3 separate regions of the Homo sapiens genome follow, and all the other regions are linked to region 3. Evidence: promoter capture Hi-C in 16 types of primary human blood cells and fetal thymus (Javierre and others, 2016). All regions are on one chromosome and are shown on one strand. The core of a region is centred on a gene start or on the middle of the fragment in contact, and the rest is flanking DNA. Distances in the headings are between cores, read along the strand shown. Region 1 has its middle 14 kb from the start of UNC13A. Region 2 holds the start of MAP1S (microtubule associated protein 1S). Region 3 holds the start of JAK3 (Janus kinase 3).

What was found. The method cuts DNA at HindIII sites, captures the fragments that hold promoters and counts their contacts. A CHiCAGO score of 5 or more calls a contact.
Region 1: a contact is called between a fragment that was not itself captured here and the fragment with the promoter of JAK3 in region 3, in 1 of 17 cell types (total CD4 T cells). The highest score is 5.6, in total CD4 T cells.
Region 2: a contact is called between the fragment with the promoter of MAP1S here and the fragment with the promoter of JAK3 in region 3, in 13 of 17 cell types (non-activated CD4 T cells, naive CD4 T cells, activated CD4 T cells and 10 more). The highest score is 10.1, in non-activated CD4 T cells.

Annotation. Positions count from the first base shown.
Region 1 is chr19:17,700,573-17,705,073 of GRCh38, forward strand. No RefSeq gene overlaps it. Among named protein-coding and RNA genes, the nearest start is that of UNC13A, 14 kb to the left of the region's middle. RefSeq lists a silencer at 787-1,014. The HindIII fragment of the contact is 7,500 bases long and covers 1-4,501 here.
Region 2 is chr19:17,716,430-17,721,111 of GRCh38, forward strand. It overlaps MAP1S (microtubule associated protein 1S), which reads left to right and starts at 3,051. Exons shown (of 7, transcript NM_018174.6): 1 at 3,051-3,191; 2 at 4,507-4,608. The coding sequence starts at 3,074. RefSeq lists enhancers at 1,081-1,582, 3,633-3,702, 4,093-4,242 and a silencer at 3,233-3,282. The HindIII fragment of the contact is 1,227 bases long and covers 2,819-4,045 here.
Region 3 is chr19:17,845,691-17,850,532 of GRCh38, forward strand. JAK3 (Janus kinase 3) reads right to left here and starts at 2,292. Exons shown (of 24, transcript NM_000215.4): 1 at 2,256-2,292. The HindIII fragment of the contact is 7,731 bases long and covers 1-4,842 here.

The sequences.
Region 1 (4,501 bases), core at 1,004-3,503, 150 kb before region 3:
AGGATGGCTGGGGGCAGGAGTGTAGGTGGCAGGGAGCCAGGACAGCATCCACACAAGATACAGCAGGCCCCTTAGGAGCTCAGGGAGGCTCAGTTTCATTCTGGAGCCGGAGACTGCAGGACCTGCTGATGCACTGAACATGCAGGGTAAGGAAAGAGAAGGGACAAGAATGAGTCCAGGTCAGGTGCAGTGGCTTATGTCTGTAATCCCAGCACTTTGGGAGGCCGAGGCGGGAGGATTCCTTGAGGGAGACCAGGATTTTGAGATCAGCCTGGGCAACAGAGTGAGACCCCATCTCTACAAAAATTTTTAAATGAGCTGGGCATGGTGGTGTGTGCCTGTAGTCCCAGCTACTCAGGAGGCTGCAGTGGGAGGACTGCCTGAGCCAAGGAGATGGAGGCTGCAGTGAGCTATGACTGCACTACTGCACTCCAGCCTGGGTCTAGGTGACAGAGTGAGACTCTGTCTCTTTTTTAGTTTGTTTGTTTTGTTTTGTTTGTTTGAGACAGAGTCTCCCTCTGTTGCCCAGGCTGGAGTGCAGTGGCACAATCTCGGCTCACTGCAACCTCCGCCTCCTAGGTTCAAGCGATTCTTGTACCTCAGCCTCCTGAGTAGCTGGGATTACAGGCACCCGCCACCACGCCCCACTAGTTTTTTGTATTTTTAGTAGAGACAGGTTTTCACCATGTTGGCCAGGCTGGTTTTGAACTCTTGACCTCAAGTGATCTGCCTGCCTCAGCCTCCCAAGGTGCTAGGATTACAGGCATGAGCTACCACGCTCGGCTGACCCTGTCTCTTAAAAAAATAAAATAAAGAGGGCCGGGCGCGGTGGCTCACGCTTGTAATCCCAGCACTTTGGGAGGCCGAGGCAGGTGGATCACGAGGTCAGGAGATCGAGACCATCCTGGCTAACACAGTGAAACCCCGTCTCTACTAAAAATACAAACAATTAGCCAGGCATGGTGGCGGGCGCCTGTAGTCCCAGCTACTCACGAGGCTGAGGTGGGAAAATGGCATGAGCCTGGGAGGTGGAGCTTGCAGTGAGCCGAGATGGCGCCACTGCACTCCAGCCTGGGCAACAGAGCAAGACTCCATCTCAAAAAAAATAAAATAAAATAAAATAAAGAGCGTATCCAGGAATCAGGACCCAGGCTACTGTGTGATAGTGGAGGCACCAACAGGATGGAGAAGGGGCAGATCTCAGGGCGAGTAACTATTCTAAGAGCCAGGTTTTGGCCTTGTGAGTGTGAAATGCCTGCAAGGCACTCAGTGGAAATATCCAATGCCATTGGATACTGAGGCCTGGAGCTCTGGGGAGATGCAGGCTGGAGACACCAATGGGATAGTCGACAACACGCAATGAGGTGTGGCTATTTGGGGCAAGGGCATAGATACAAGGTCAAGGGACACCCTGCTCTTCCAGGACTATCAAAGCCAAGACATCACACCCAGGGGTCCACCCTTTACAACTCTGTCCATGCCCAACGCCAGTCCCTGTTATCAGGTCAGCAGGAATGCTACCTGCAGGGAACATGGAATTCAGTGTCCTTGGGCTTACCATAGGTGCTCCTCTTCTTCTCTCAAGTGCCTATTTATTTATTTATTTATTTATTTATTTATTTATTATTTGAGATGGAGTATCACTCTGTCACTAGGCTGGAGTGCAGTGGCGCAATCTTGGCTCACTGCAACCTCTGCCTCCTGGGTTCAAGCAATTCCCCTGCCTCAGCCTCCCGAGTAGCTGGGACTACCATGCCCAGCTAATTTTTTTTTTTTTTTTTTTGTATTTTAGTAGAGATGGGGTTTCACCGTGTTGGCTAGGATGGTCTCAATCTCCTGACCTCGTGATCCACCCGCCTCGGCCTCCCAAAGTGCTGGGATTACAGTCAAGTGCTCATTTATAGATGGGGAGACTGAGTTCCTGAGAGTTTGGGGCAGCAGGCAGCGGGGCGGGGGAGGGGGACAAGGCTGGGACGTGAAGTGGGTCTGGAGTAACTCTCAGAATAGGCCGTTTCTGCAATGCAGACGTCTGTGTAATCGTTCATTCATTCAATGAACGTAGTTTGGATCCACACCCTTGCCCATCTCGCGCTGATCTGAAAGGGGACGTTTCTGTTAGGTGTGGTGGCTCACGCCTGTAATCCCAGCACTTTGGGAGGCCAAGGTGGACGGATCACCTGAGGTCAGGAGCTGCAGACCAGTCTGGTCAACATGGTGAAACCCCGTCTCTACTAAAAATACAAAAAAAAATTAGCTAGGCGTGGTGGCGCCTGCCTGTAGTCAGTCCCAGCTACTTGGGAGGCTGAAGCAGGAGAATCACTTGAACCTCAAAGGCAGAGGCTGCAGTGAGCCGAGATCACGCCACTGCACTTCAGCCTGGGTGCAACAGAGTGAGACCCCATCTCAAAATAATAATAATGATGATGATAATAATCATAATGATGAAAGGGGCATTTCAACGTTCACCATTGAGCACTCGGATCCAATTAATTTTTAAGCTCTGGTGCCCCATTTTCTTCCAGCCAACAGCTCAGCTAATTCCAAAGCTATTGATTTGAGCCTTCTCATCCCTCCACTTAATTATGCCGGTGCTGTCTGTATCTTCTCTTGCCCTTTTTTCTCTGCGGCTCCTTCTTTGCCAAGGTCAAGGGTCCAGCGAGCAAGGAGGATCTCGCTCAGCACAGGGAATTGGAGGAAGGACATTCCTGGCCGAGGGCAGGGTGTGTGCAAAGGCTCTGAGATTGGACCTCTTATTGAACTTAATTGTAGCTGTCAGGCTGCCTGGGGCAGAGAAATCGATGAGGGCAAACTTGGCTTATCGCCTATAAAATGAGGATAAAAAATAATGGTTTCTGCCAGGTGCGGTGGCTCAAGTCTGTAATCCCAGCACTTTGGGAGGCCAAGGCGGGCAGATCACCTGAGGTCAGGAGTTCAAAACCAGCCTGGCCAACATGGTGAAACCCTATCTCTACTAAAAGTTTAAAAATCAGCTGGGCGTGGTGGCGGGCGCCTGTAATCCCAGCTACTCGGGAGGCTGAGGCAGGGGAATCGCTTGAACCCAGGAGCCAGAGGCTGCAGTGAGCCGAGATCGCGCCACTGTACTCCAGCCTGGGCAACAGAGTGAGGCTCTGTCTCAAAAACAACAACAATAACAACGACAACAGATAATAATAATAATAATTAATAATAATGGTTTCCCAGAGAATTAAATGGGACAAAGGCAACATCAATCTTTTGAAAGTTCCAGGCCCTGCCCTGCAGGGATGTAGGGTGGAAATAACACTAGGCTGCAAAATGACTGGATGGGCCTGGAGTGGTTGGATGGGATTGGATGGATCATAAACAAAAGTGATTGGATTGGTCAAGAGGAGGAGACGGAGGCAGGAAATAAAGGCAGACAAAGGAACGTAATAGGTTCAGACCCAATGGAGGCGAGGTTCCGGACTCAGAGAGGGGGCCTCAGCCCAAAGTTCCCAGAGTGGCCAGCTGGGGGCAGCATAAGCCATTAGGCCATCCCAGGGCTGGGAGCAGAGGGGAACCAGGGACCCTCTGTGACCCTCTGACGGAGGTTAACTTATTTGACATGTGCCTGCAGTGTGCCAGACATGGAACAGAACTCTACAAGCACTCATTTAATCCCCATAATAGAGTTTGCAGATGGGGAAACTGAGAACAACAACGTTAAGTTGCTCACCCAACGTCACACATCAGGGGAGTGGCAGAGCTTGGATTTGAATTTAGGAAGCCCAGCTGAGGCCCTTAACCTCTGCACTCTACTGGCTCTCCTTCCCCTAAATCTCCTAAAATGACAGTTTAAAACTTTTTTTAAGGTGGCGCCGGGTGGGGGGTGGGGGGCGGGTGTGGGTAGGGCACGGGCATGGTGGCTCATGCCTGTAATCCCAGCACTTTGGAAGGCCAAGGCGGGCAGATCACTTGAGGTCAGGAGTTCGAGCCCAACATGGCCAACATGGTGAAACCCCGTCTCTACTAAAACTACAAAAATTAGCCGGGTGTGGTGGCGCCTGTAGTCCCAGCTACTCGGGAATCTGAGGCAGGAGAATCACTTGAACCTGGGAGACGGAGGTTGCAGTGAGCCGAGATCACGCCACTGCTCTCCAGCCTGGGGGACAGAGCGAGACTCCGTCCCCCACCAGAAAAAGTCAGGCCAGACGTGGTAGCTCACACTTGTAATCCTAGCACTTTGGGATGCGGAAAGATTGCTTGGGCTCAGGAGTTCAAGACCAGCCTGGGCAACAATAGTGAGACCTCATCTCTACTTTATTTATTTTATTTATTTATTTATTTTCTGAGTCAGAGTCTCGCTCTGTCACCCAGGCTGGAGTGCAATGGCACAACCTTTGGCTCACTGCAACCTCTGCCTCCCAGGTTCAAGTAATTCTCCTGCCTCAGCCTCCCGAGTAGCTGGGATTAAGGCGCCTGCCACTACGCCCAGCTAATTTTTGTATTTTTGGTAGAAATGGGGTTTCACCATATTGGCCAG
Region 2 (4,682 bases), core at 1,801-4,300, 130 kb before region 3:
CTGAGGGCTCAGGGTTCCGTTTTCCCCACAAATGCCATCATCTGACGCCTCTGGGGATGGTGACCTTGAAACAGTCATGGAGCTGGGCCAGAAACCAGAGACCAGAGTCCCATGCCTGGGATTTGAGCAGTGGTCTCAGAGGCTTCTCAGTTTCTAGGGAAATGCACCCCACATGTCCCACACCAGAGTCCTCAAGCTTGGGAAATGCTTTGGGACAGGAAGACCTCATGGCTCCAAGTACTCAGGACATTATCTCCCAAAAACCTAATGGGGGAGACCTTCATCCCCAAATCAGATCCCCCTAGTGGAGACATTTCTTCAGGCCCTGTAAGACCAACTAGTAATAGAATTAATACCAACAGGCCGGTGCAGTGGCCCATACCTATAATCTCAGCACTTTGGGAGGCCAAGTGGGGCAGATTACTTGAAGTCAGGAGTTCGAGACCATCCTGGCCAACATGGTGAAACCCCATGTCTCTACTAAAAATACAAAAATTAGCCAGGCATGGTGGTGGGTACCGTAATCCCAGCTACTCAGGAGGCTGAGGCAGGAGAATCCCTTGAACCCGGGAGGCGGAGCTTGCAGTGAGCCGAGGTTACACCACTGTGCTCCAACCTAGCCTGCTTGACAGAACAAGACTCTCTCTCTCTCTCTCAGAATGATTCTGGCAAGGGCGACAGAGTGAGAATCCGTCTCAAAAAAAAAAAAAAGAAAGAAAAAAAAGAATTAGTACCAACAATCATAATTCACAGCGTGGGCAGAAGGAAGTGGATAGACTTCCATTCAGAAGCTCCTGGGTTCGAATCCTGGACCCATCCATAAATACACAAGGAAGGAAGGAAGGAAGGAATAGTGGACAAATAGGCCTTTCAGCCCATTCCAAAAGACTTTATCATATCCCTTCTCAGATGCCCAAGCCTTGTGTTGCACAAGGCCAGGGCCCCAGAGAGGCCTCAGGCTTCCAAAAGTTTCCAGCCTTATAGGGGAGATAGTGCCCGACACAGACACTCCCACTACTATTACTGCTCACAGCAATAACAGAAGAAATCACAGGCAGGCGAGACACAGGGAAGGGAGCCAAGGGGGAGGGACAAGGATAGAGGAAGGATGCCAGAACCAAAAAGAGAGAGAGGAAGTGGAGTGCAAGAATGGTAGACGGCACGTGGCCAGTGGCTGTTACACACTGGCCAGGGAGGAAGTTGGGCTGAACAACCTAGATAATAAACGGCAGCGGGAGGCTGATTCGCCTTCCCAGATCTTTCCCATTTCTGTTCTGCTTTTCTTTGCATACTCCCGGAGACAGGGAGCTCACTCCTGAGAAAGGAGGTTCAATGTTTCCTGGGCATGGACCACTGTCCAGAAGTTCCAAGCAAGATGATTTGTCAAGTAGTAGCCCCTATGGGTCAAAGGGCTAAAGGGGGCCAGGCGCGGCGGCTCACGCCTGTAATCCCAGCACTTTGGGAGGCCAAGGCAGGAGGATCACTTGAGGTCAGGAGTTCGAGACCAGCCTGGCCAACATGGTGAAACCCCATCTCTGCCGGGCACGGTGGCTCACGCCTGTAATCCCAGCACTTTGGGAGGCCGAGGCAGGCAGATCACGAGGTCAGGAGATCGAGACCACGGTGAAACCCCGTCTCTACTGAAAATACAAAAAATTAGCTGGGCACAGTGGCGGGCGCCTGTAGTCCCAGCTACTCGGGAGGCTGAGGCAGGAGAATGGCATGAACCTGGGAGGTGGAGCTTGCAGTGAGCCGAGATCGCGCCACTACCCTTCAGCCTGGGCGACAGAGCGAGACTCTGTCTCTAAAAGAAAAGAAAAGAAAAGAAAAGAAAAGAAAAGAAAAGAAAAGAAAAGAAAAGAAACCTCATCTCTACTAAAATACAAAAATTAGCAGGGCATGGTGGCGGACACCTATAATCCCGCTACTTGGGAGGCTGAGGCAAGGGAATCGCTTGAACCCGGGAGGCAGAGGTTGCAGTGAGCTGAGATTGTGCCATTGCACTCCAGCCTGGGCGGCAGAATGAGACTCCATCTCAAGAAAAGGAAAGGAGAGGAGAGGAGAGGGGAGAGGAGGGGAGGGGAGGGGAGGGAGAGGAAGGGAGGGGAGGGGAGGAGAGGAGAGGAGAGGGGAGAGAAGGGGAGGGGAGGGGAGAAGAGGAGAGGAGGGGAGGGGAGGAGAGGAGAAGAGAGGGGAGGAAAGGAAAGAAAAGCCTAAAGAGGATTATCTGGGGAGAGAGAGGTACCCATGTGCGCAACGCAGGCAGTCCCTTGCACAGGCTGGATCTAGAGTAAGACCCACTTGGGTTCAAACCTGCTCTACCACTTACAGGCCTGGTGACTTCATCCCTCCAAATCTCAGTTTCCTCTTCTTTCCTCTGAAAGTGACCACAGTAACTGTGCCTACTCATCTGTGCCTACATACAAGCACAAAACTCATCGCTTTGTGCTTGTATGTAATGAGCTAATGCAATAAAATACCTGGCGCACAGGAGGTGCAGAATAAGTGTTGCCCTGTTCCAGGCAGGCCCAGAGTGCTCCGGTTGTGTCCCAAACACACATGTACTTTCTTACCTCTAAAACTTTGCACCTGCTGTAAACTTCTGCCTCACCAGCTCTTGCCCCACCACCCACAAGGCAAACTCCTACACATCCCTTAAAGCCCTACCTACAAGATAGATTTCTTTTCTCTGTTCAAGCCCTGACCTAGAGAGCTGGGAGCATCCATAGGCACCGGGTTCTGATGCGGCCTACTGTCATGTGATGTGAGTTCCTGGAGGGCAGGAGTTCTGACCTACATGCAGCAGGCACGCAATCAAAGCTTGTTCAATGAAAAAAAAAATGAATGAATGGTCACTTGGGAGAGGCGGCTCCCAAGCGGACACCCAGGAGTCGGCCAACCCCTTTAACGCCCGCATCCCCTGCTCTCCACGACCTCAAAGGGCCTGTAAGTGGTCGACAAAAAGGGGCGGGGATGCGGTGGTTCCGGGCGGGGTCTTCAGCCCTTCCGGTGCGGCCCCTTTAAGAGGCGGGGCCTGCGGGGCGGGCGCCGAGAACGCCGGGGCGGCCCGAAGATGGCGGCGGTGGCTGGATCTGGGGCTGCCGCGGCTCCGAGCTCACTGCTCCTCGTGGTGGGCAGCGAGTTCGGGAGCCCGGGGCTCCTCACCTACGTCCTGGAGGAGCTCGAAAGAGGTCGGGCTGGCCTGGGGGCCCGCGGGAGCCCGGGAGGCGGGCCCGTTCGCGCGTCTGGGCCCGGGGCCGGCGGGGTGGGGCGGCGGCGGCGGCGGCGGCGGGACCCGGGCTCCGGGGCGGGGGTCGCGGGCCTGGGGCTGGGTCCCCTTCACCGTTAGGCGCACGACGCGGGCAAAGGCGGGGTGCCCGTGGGTGCCCGCGGAGAAAGTGGCATCCGGGCCTGGGCTGGGCAGGGCTGCCCCGCCCCAACTCCGGGTGAAGATAGGGGAGGGGACACGGGCCTGGGCTTGGGGACCCTTGCAGTTGGACCACGGCTCCGCTTCCCGCCTGACTGGCCTGCCCGGGGGTAGGGCCTGGGGTCGCTTTGGATCTCCAGGTCTTAGCAGCTTAGATAGAGATCTCCCGGAGGGAGAAGCAGATATGGGGGAGGCTGGGCCTGGAGCCCCGGGGCCCGCTTTCTGTTGCCTCACAAGGAGCTGCTAATTGGGGTGTGGGCGGGTGCGGCCTGCCCTGGGGATTTGGCACCTAGGGAGGTGAGTCATAGGCGCACCTGCCAGGTTCACCTGCAGCCACTTGGCTCAGTGGGACTGGCGGGCGTGATGCGCCCGTGGGTGGAGATGGGTGTTCATCCCCCATCCCTCGGAGCATCTGGACCTGGCGTTTCATTGCATGTAAAATGGGACAGGAACACGCACCTCGGTTCATGTGCTTGAGGAGTGTTTAGTGAGCACCTGCTATGCGCCAGGCCTTTGGGCAGTGGACACAGGGATATGGCCGGGATGATAGACAGGTTCAGCCCTGCCAACACAGGTCTGGTTTGGGGATGGACCCAAAGCGAGTGAGGAGATGGAACAAGCTTCCAGCTCACATGGTGTCAGGAAGGATGAGAAGGCTGCAAGGGACTGAGAGGACAGTCAGTCTTAGCACCCGAAGGTGCTGAGGGGGAAGGGCCCCCTGGCCAGTAGGAACAGGTGGGGGCGGCAGGGGGATGGACTTCCAGGCAGGGGAAACAGCTGTTGCAAGGGCGGTGAGTGGAAACGGGTCTGGCAGGGCATAGGAGCAGCGAGGAGGTGGAGATGGAGGAGGTGGAGGCTTTGTTGCTGATGAATCTTGTGTGTAAAATGATGAGGTGTGCTCTGGGTCCCCTGGCTCAGCTGCAGCGAGACCTGAAGGTGTTGGGTACTTCTGAGTCTCCAAGCTGTGAGTGAAGGGAGGAGGCTGGGGCGCTCCCCACCCACGGGGTGCTAATTATTGAAATATTCTGGGAGCTGGGGGGCCCGGCTGAACTCCCGCCTTGATCCCTCCTTCCCACCAGGCATCCGGTCTTGGGATGTCGATCCTGGCGTCTGCAACCTTGATGAACAGCTCAAGGTCTTTGTGTCCCGACACTCTGCCACCTTCTCCAGCATTGTGAAAGGTGAGGCTGGGGTCCCCCTGACTGCTCCCTACCTCTTGTTATTTGGGGAAGTGCCAGCCGTGTGCCAGGCATGG
Region 3 (4,842 bases), core at 1,042-3,541:
TTGAGCTATGATCACACCACTGCACTCCAGCCTGGGCGACAGAGCAAGACCTTATCTCTAGAAAAAAAACACAATACAAAAACTATGATCCAAAATAATGCCCTGTGGCTGGGGTGGGGCGGCATTAATGAGGGTTTTTTTGTTTTTGTTTTGAGACAGAGTCTAGCTCTGTCATCCAGGCTGGAGTGCAGTGGCACAATCTCGGCTTACTCTGCATCCTGGGTTCAAGTGATTCTCCTGCCTCAGCCTCCCAAGTAGCTGGGATTACAGGGGCACGCCACCATGCCCGGCTAATTTTTGTATTTTTGGTAGAGACGGGGTTTCACCATGTTGGCGAGGCTGGTCTGGAACTCCTGACCTCGAGTGATCCTCCTGCCTCGGACTCCCAAAGTGCTGGGATTACCGGCGTGAGAAACTGCGCCTGGCCTAATGAGGTTTAAGACAATCAGAGGACTAGGACCCCTAGGACTCAGCTTTCGCAGCTGTGAAATGGGCTGACTCCCCAGCATCCTCATTGAGGTGGTCTGCTGAGCGCAATCCAGGCCTAAAGTGTCAACTCAATTAATGTGCATTAATTTGTATATTTCTTGATGATGTGCCGGTAAGCGATCAACAAACGCCTGTTAAACCAAACAGGAAGGGCAATTGGCACAGCGGTGTGGTGGTTACTGTGGGAAGGGAAGTCTTGTGGGGGAAAGAACCTTACCAAAGGGACACTTTGATGTCACCGATGCCCAGACCAAGAATGAGCACATTCCTAGTCCCGGGAACCTTGGAGGAGCCCCATCTCTCCCACAGAGAGATTGATGTCTAGTTTTGCCCTTTATAGAAATAAAATCACACACCATAGCCTCTCTATCGTCCCCTCAACATCAGCCAATCAAGTTTTTTGGTTTGTTTGTTTGTTTTTTTGAGACGGAGTCTCGCACTGTCACCCAGGCTGGAGTGCAGTCGCACGATCTTGGCTCACTGTAGCCTCTGCCTCCTGGGTTCAAGCGATTCTCATGCCTCAGCTTCCCAAGTGGCTGGGATTACAGGCGCGCACCACAGCGCCCAGCTAATTTTTGTATTTTTAGTAGAGACGGAGTTTCACCATGTTGGCCAGGCTGGTCTCAAACTCCTGGCCTCAGGTGATTCGCCTGCCTTGGCCTCCCAAAGTGCTGTGATTACACACGTGAGCCACATTGCCCAGCCTTTTTATTTATTTATTTATTTTGTAGGGGGGAGGACGGATTCTTGTTCTGTCTCCCAGGCTGGAGTGCAGTGGCATGATCTCGGCTCACTGCAAACTCCACCTCCCAGGTTCAAGCGATTCTCCTGCCTCAGCCTCCTGAGTAGCTGGAATTACAGGCACCCGCCACCAAACCTGGCTAATTTTTGTGTTTTTAGTAGAGATAGGGTTTCACCATGTTGACCAGGCTGATCTCGAACTCCTGACCTCCAGTGATCCGCTGGCCTCAGCCTCCCAAAGTGTTGGGATTAAAGGCATGAGCCACTGTGCCCAGCCCCAGTCGAGTTTAAAATAAGGCTTCAGTGGCAGTGGCGCCCCACTGCAATCCCAGCTACTCAGGGGGCTGAGGCAGCAGGATAGCTTGAGGCCAGGGGTTAGAGACCTGCCTGAACAACATAGCAAGACTCCCATCTCCAAAACAACAAAAAAATCTTAACAGAATATTATTATTCTGTAATACTGTAACAAAAAAAAATGAAAAGTCAGAGGTGATGTTTGGTCCCAGAAAACGCCATAGTTTTTTTGGTTTTTTAAAAATGTTTGTAGAAATGGAGGTCTGGCTATGTTGCCCAGGCTGGCCTTGAACTCCTGGCCTCAAGCTATCCTCCCGCCTCGGCATCCCCTGTTTATAATCCTCAACGTTCTGCATCCTGGTATGGTCGGGTACCCTGTGTCTGGACCGGGAAGGCCTGGAGGGTAGGGGCTGGGAACTCCGCCCCCCAATCCCTCCTTCCCAATCCCTCCTCCCCACCCCCAACCCCGCAGCCCCCGTCGCGCATGCGCAATGACTCCTCCAGGTCCGCAAGGCAGGCATCTCCCGGCCTTAGTCAAAGCCGAAGCCCAGAGAAGCGAGCGATCGGAGGATGCGAGTCTCGGCTCACGTCTGCCTCGCAGCTTTCCTCCGAGGCCTGGAAGGCGAGCTAGCCTTTGCCCTGGCAGCACCCTGCCCCAGCCCAGCCATCCCCCGCCACCACCATCCTCCCCCAGTGTCTGGGCCGAGCCCTGCGGCATCGCCAGCTCTTACCTAGCGGGCAGGGACCCTGGACTTTCGAAGGGCGGGCAGAGCCGGGAGGCAGCGAGAGGAAAGTCCCACTCGGCTCCTTCCTGTGTGGGCCCCTTGGTTTCCTGAGCCACTGTCATTTACCGAAAGTCAGGGCCCTGCGGGAGCTGGGGGCGGGGAGGCGGGCAAGGAGGGGCAGAAAGTTCCGGAAGCCTCTGCATCAGCCGCCCCGTTCAGACAGGCTGCTGGAGACCCCTAAGCCAAAGGAACTGATGATAGCACAGAGAAGGGTCTGGGTCACACCAGGGGCTCAGCCGACTCTAGACCCACTTGTTAAGTGGGGCTCTGGCCCGGCCCTTATTGCCTCAGTTTACCCATCTGTAGCATGTGTGAGTTGGGCACCCAGTGGAACTAATTTTGCACCCAGGGAAGGAAACCTGGCTGGATTTGCCCAGGAGGGAAGCAGGGAAGTTGCCCCAGAGGAAGGTCAAGTTCTTCTTTGAGGTATTTCTCCCTTAAGACTCAGGGAGACGCTGGGCGCAGTGGCTCACGCCTGTCATCCCAGCACTTTGGGAGACTGAGGCGGGCGATTACTTGAGGTCAGGAGTTTGAGACCAGCCTAGCCAACATGGCGAAACTCCGTCTCTACTAAAAATACAAAAATTAGCCAGGCGTGGTGGCCTGTAATCGCAGCACTTTGGGAGGCTGAGGCGGGCGGATCACTTGAAGTCAGGAGTTTGAGACCAGCCTGGCCAACATGATGAAACCCTGTCTCTACTAAAAACAGGAAAATTAGCCAGGCCTGGTGATGCCTGTAATCCTAGCTACTCAGGAGGCTGAGGTGGGAGGATTGCTTGAATCTAGGAGGCGGATGTTACAGTGAGACGAGATGGCGCCACTGCACTCCAGCCTGGCAACAGAGCGGGACTTCGTTTAAAAAAAAAAGAAAAGACTCAGGGAGAGATAATGACCCATTTCTGCCTGTGGTGCCCTGGGCCCAGCCCTAAAAAACCAGGTGGATCCGGCCTGGCCTCTTGGAACTTGTGATCTGGCGCTGAGACAATGAGCAAATGAAGGAGCCAAATCATCGCAGACAACAAAGAAAGCCAGGGTGTCAGGACAGGCACAGACTGGAACTTGGACCCGAGGCAGGACAGGGAGCTGGCCAGGGAAAGGGTGCTCCAGGAGGAGGGCACAGGATGGGCAAAGACCTTGAGAGGGCAGTGATCTTAGCAGCTTGAAGAGCAGTCAGGAGGCCAGGGGCAGGGGTGAGATGAGGGGGAAGGGGACTGCAGGGCGGTCAACAGGGGCAAGATCGTGGGGGGACAGGGGGATCAGGGTCTTTGGGAGAAGGGTGGGTTTTGCCTGGAGCATAATCTGGAGCCACAGGAGAGTTGGAAGTAGGAGCTGTTATAAATAGAAGAGGCAGAAGGCCCGGGCAGCATCCAAATGCAGAGACTTGGGCCAGTGTTCTTAGGATAATAGGATCAGAGCCCCGGAAGTAGAGCTTCAGGAATAGACTGACGAAGTGGTGACCGGGTACAGTGGCTCACATCTGTAATTCCAGCACTTTGGAAGGCCCAGGTGGGAAGATTGCTTGAGCCTAGGAGTTCGAGACCAGCCTGGCCAACATGGTGAAACCCCATCTCTACTAAAAATATAAAAATTAGCTGGGCGTGGTGGCATGTGCCTGTAATCCCAGCTACTTGGGAGGCTGAGGCAGGAGAATCACTGGAACCCAGGAGGCAGGCGGAGGTTGTAGTGAGCTGAGATTGTGCCACCGCACTCCAGCCTGGGCGACGGAGCAATACTCTGTCTCAAAAAAAAAAAAAGGAATAGATTTAAGAAGTTGTGGCCAAGAACAGTGGCTCACACCTGTAATCTCAGCACTTTGGGAGGCTCAGGCAGGAGGATGGCTTGAGCCCAGGTGTTCGAGACCAGCCTGGGCAACATGGTGAAACCCTGTCTCTACAAAAAATACAACAACAACAAAATAATAAGCTGGATGTGGTGGCATGTGCCTGTAGTCCCAGCTACTAGGGGAGGCTGAGGTGGGAGGATCACCTGAGCCCAGGAAGTTGAGGCTGCAGTTAGCTGTGGTCATGCCACTGCACTCCAGCCTGGGCAATGGGAGTGAGATCCCGTCTCAAAAAAAAAAAAAAAAAGACTTTTCATCTCTGTATCACCATCACAAGTCTTAACACAAAATGGTTTGGTAAGTATTTTGTTGATCTTAACTGTTCAATCAGCCAGAGGCTTATTGGACACAGCCTGTGTGCAGGGAATCGGGGACAATGCAGACCCAATCCCTGTCCAGGGGAGCTGACAGTCCAGCAGGGGAGATGGCAATAAACAAGCTATTGCCCAATAATTATATCAGTTGCCCCTGGGACCGGTCTGCTAAGAGAGATGACTGGATCTGGGAGGGCTTCCTGGAGGAGGTGGCTTTGATTCTGAAATCCAACAACAAGTGGGACTAGCCAGAGAGTGACCTGAGAATGTGGGAGTGTGGGCAGTTCTGGCAGGCAGAACAGCCCAGGCAAAGGCCTGGAGGCTTCACGAATTCACAGTGTTCCTGAGAAGAGCAGGATGTCAGGGACACGGGGGGCTG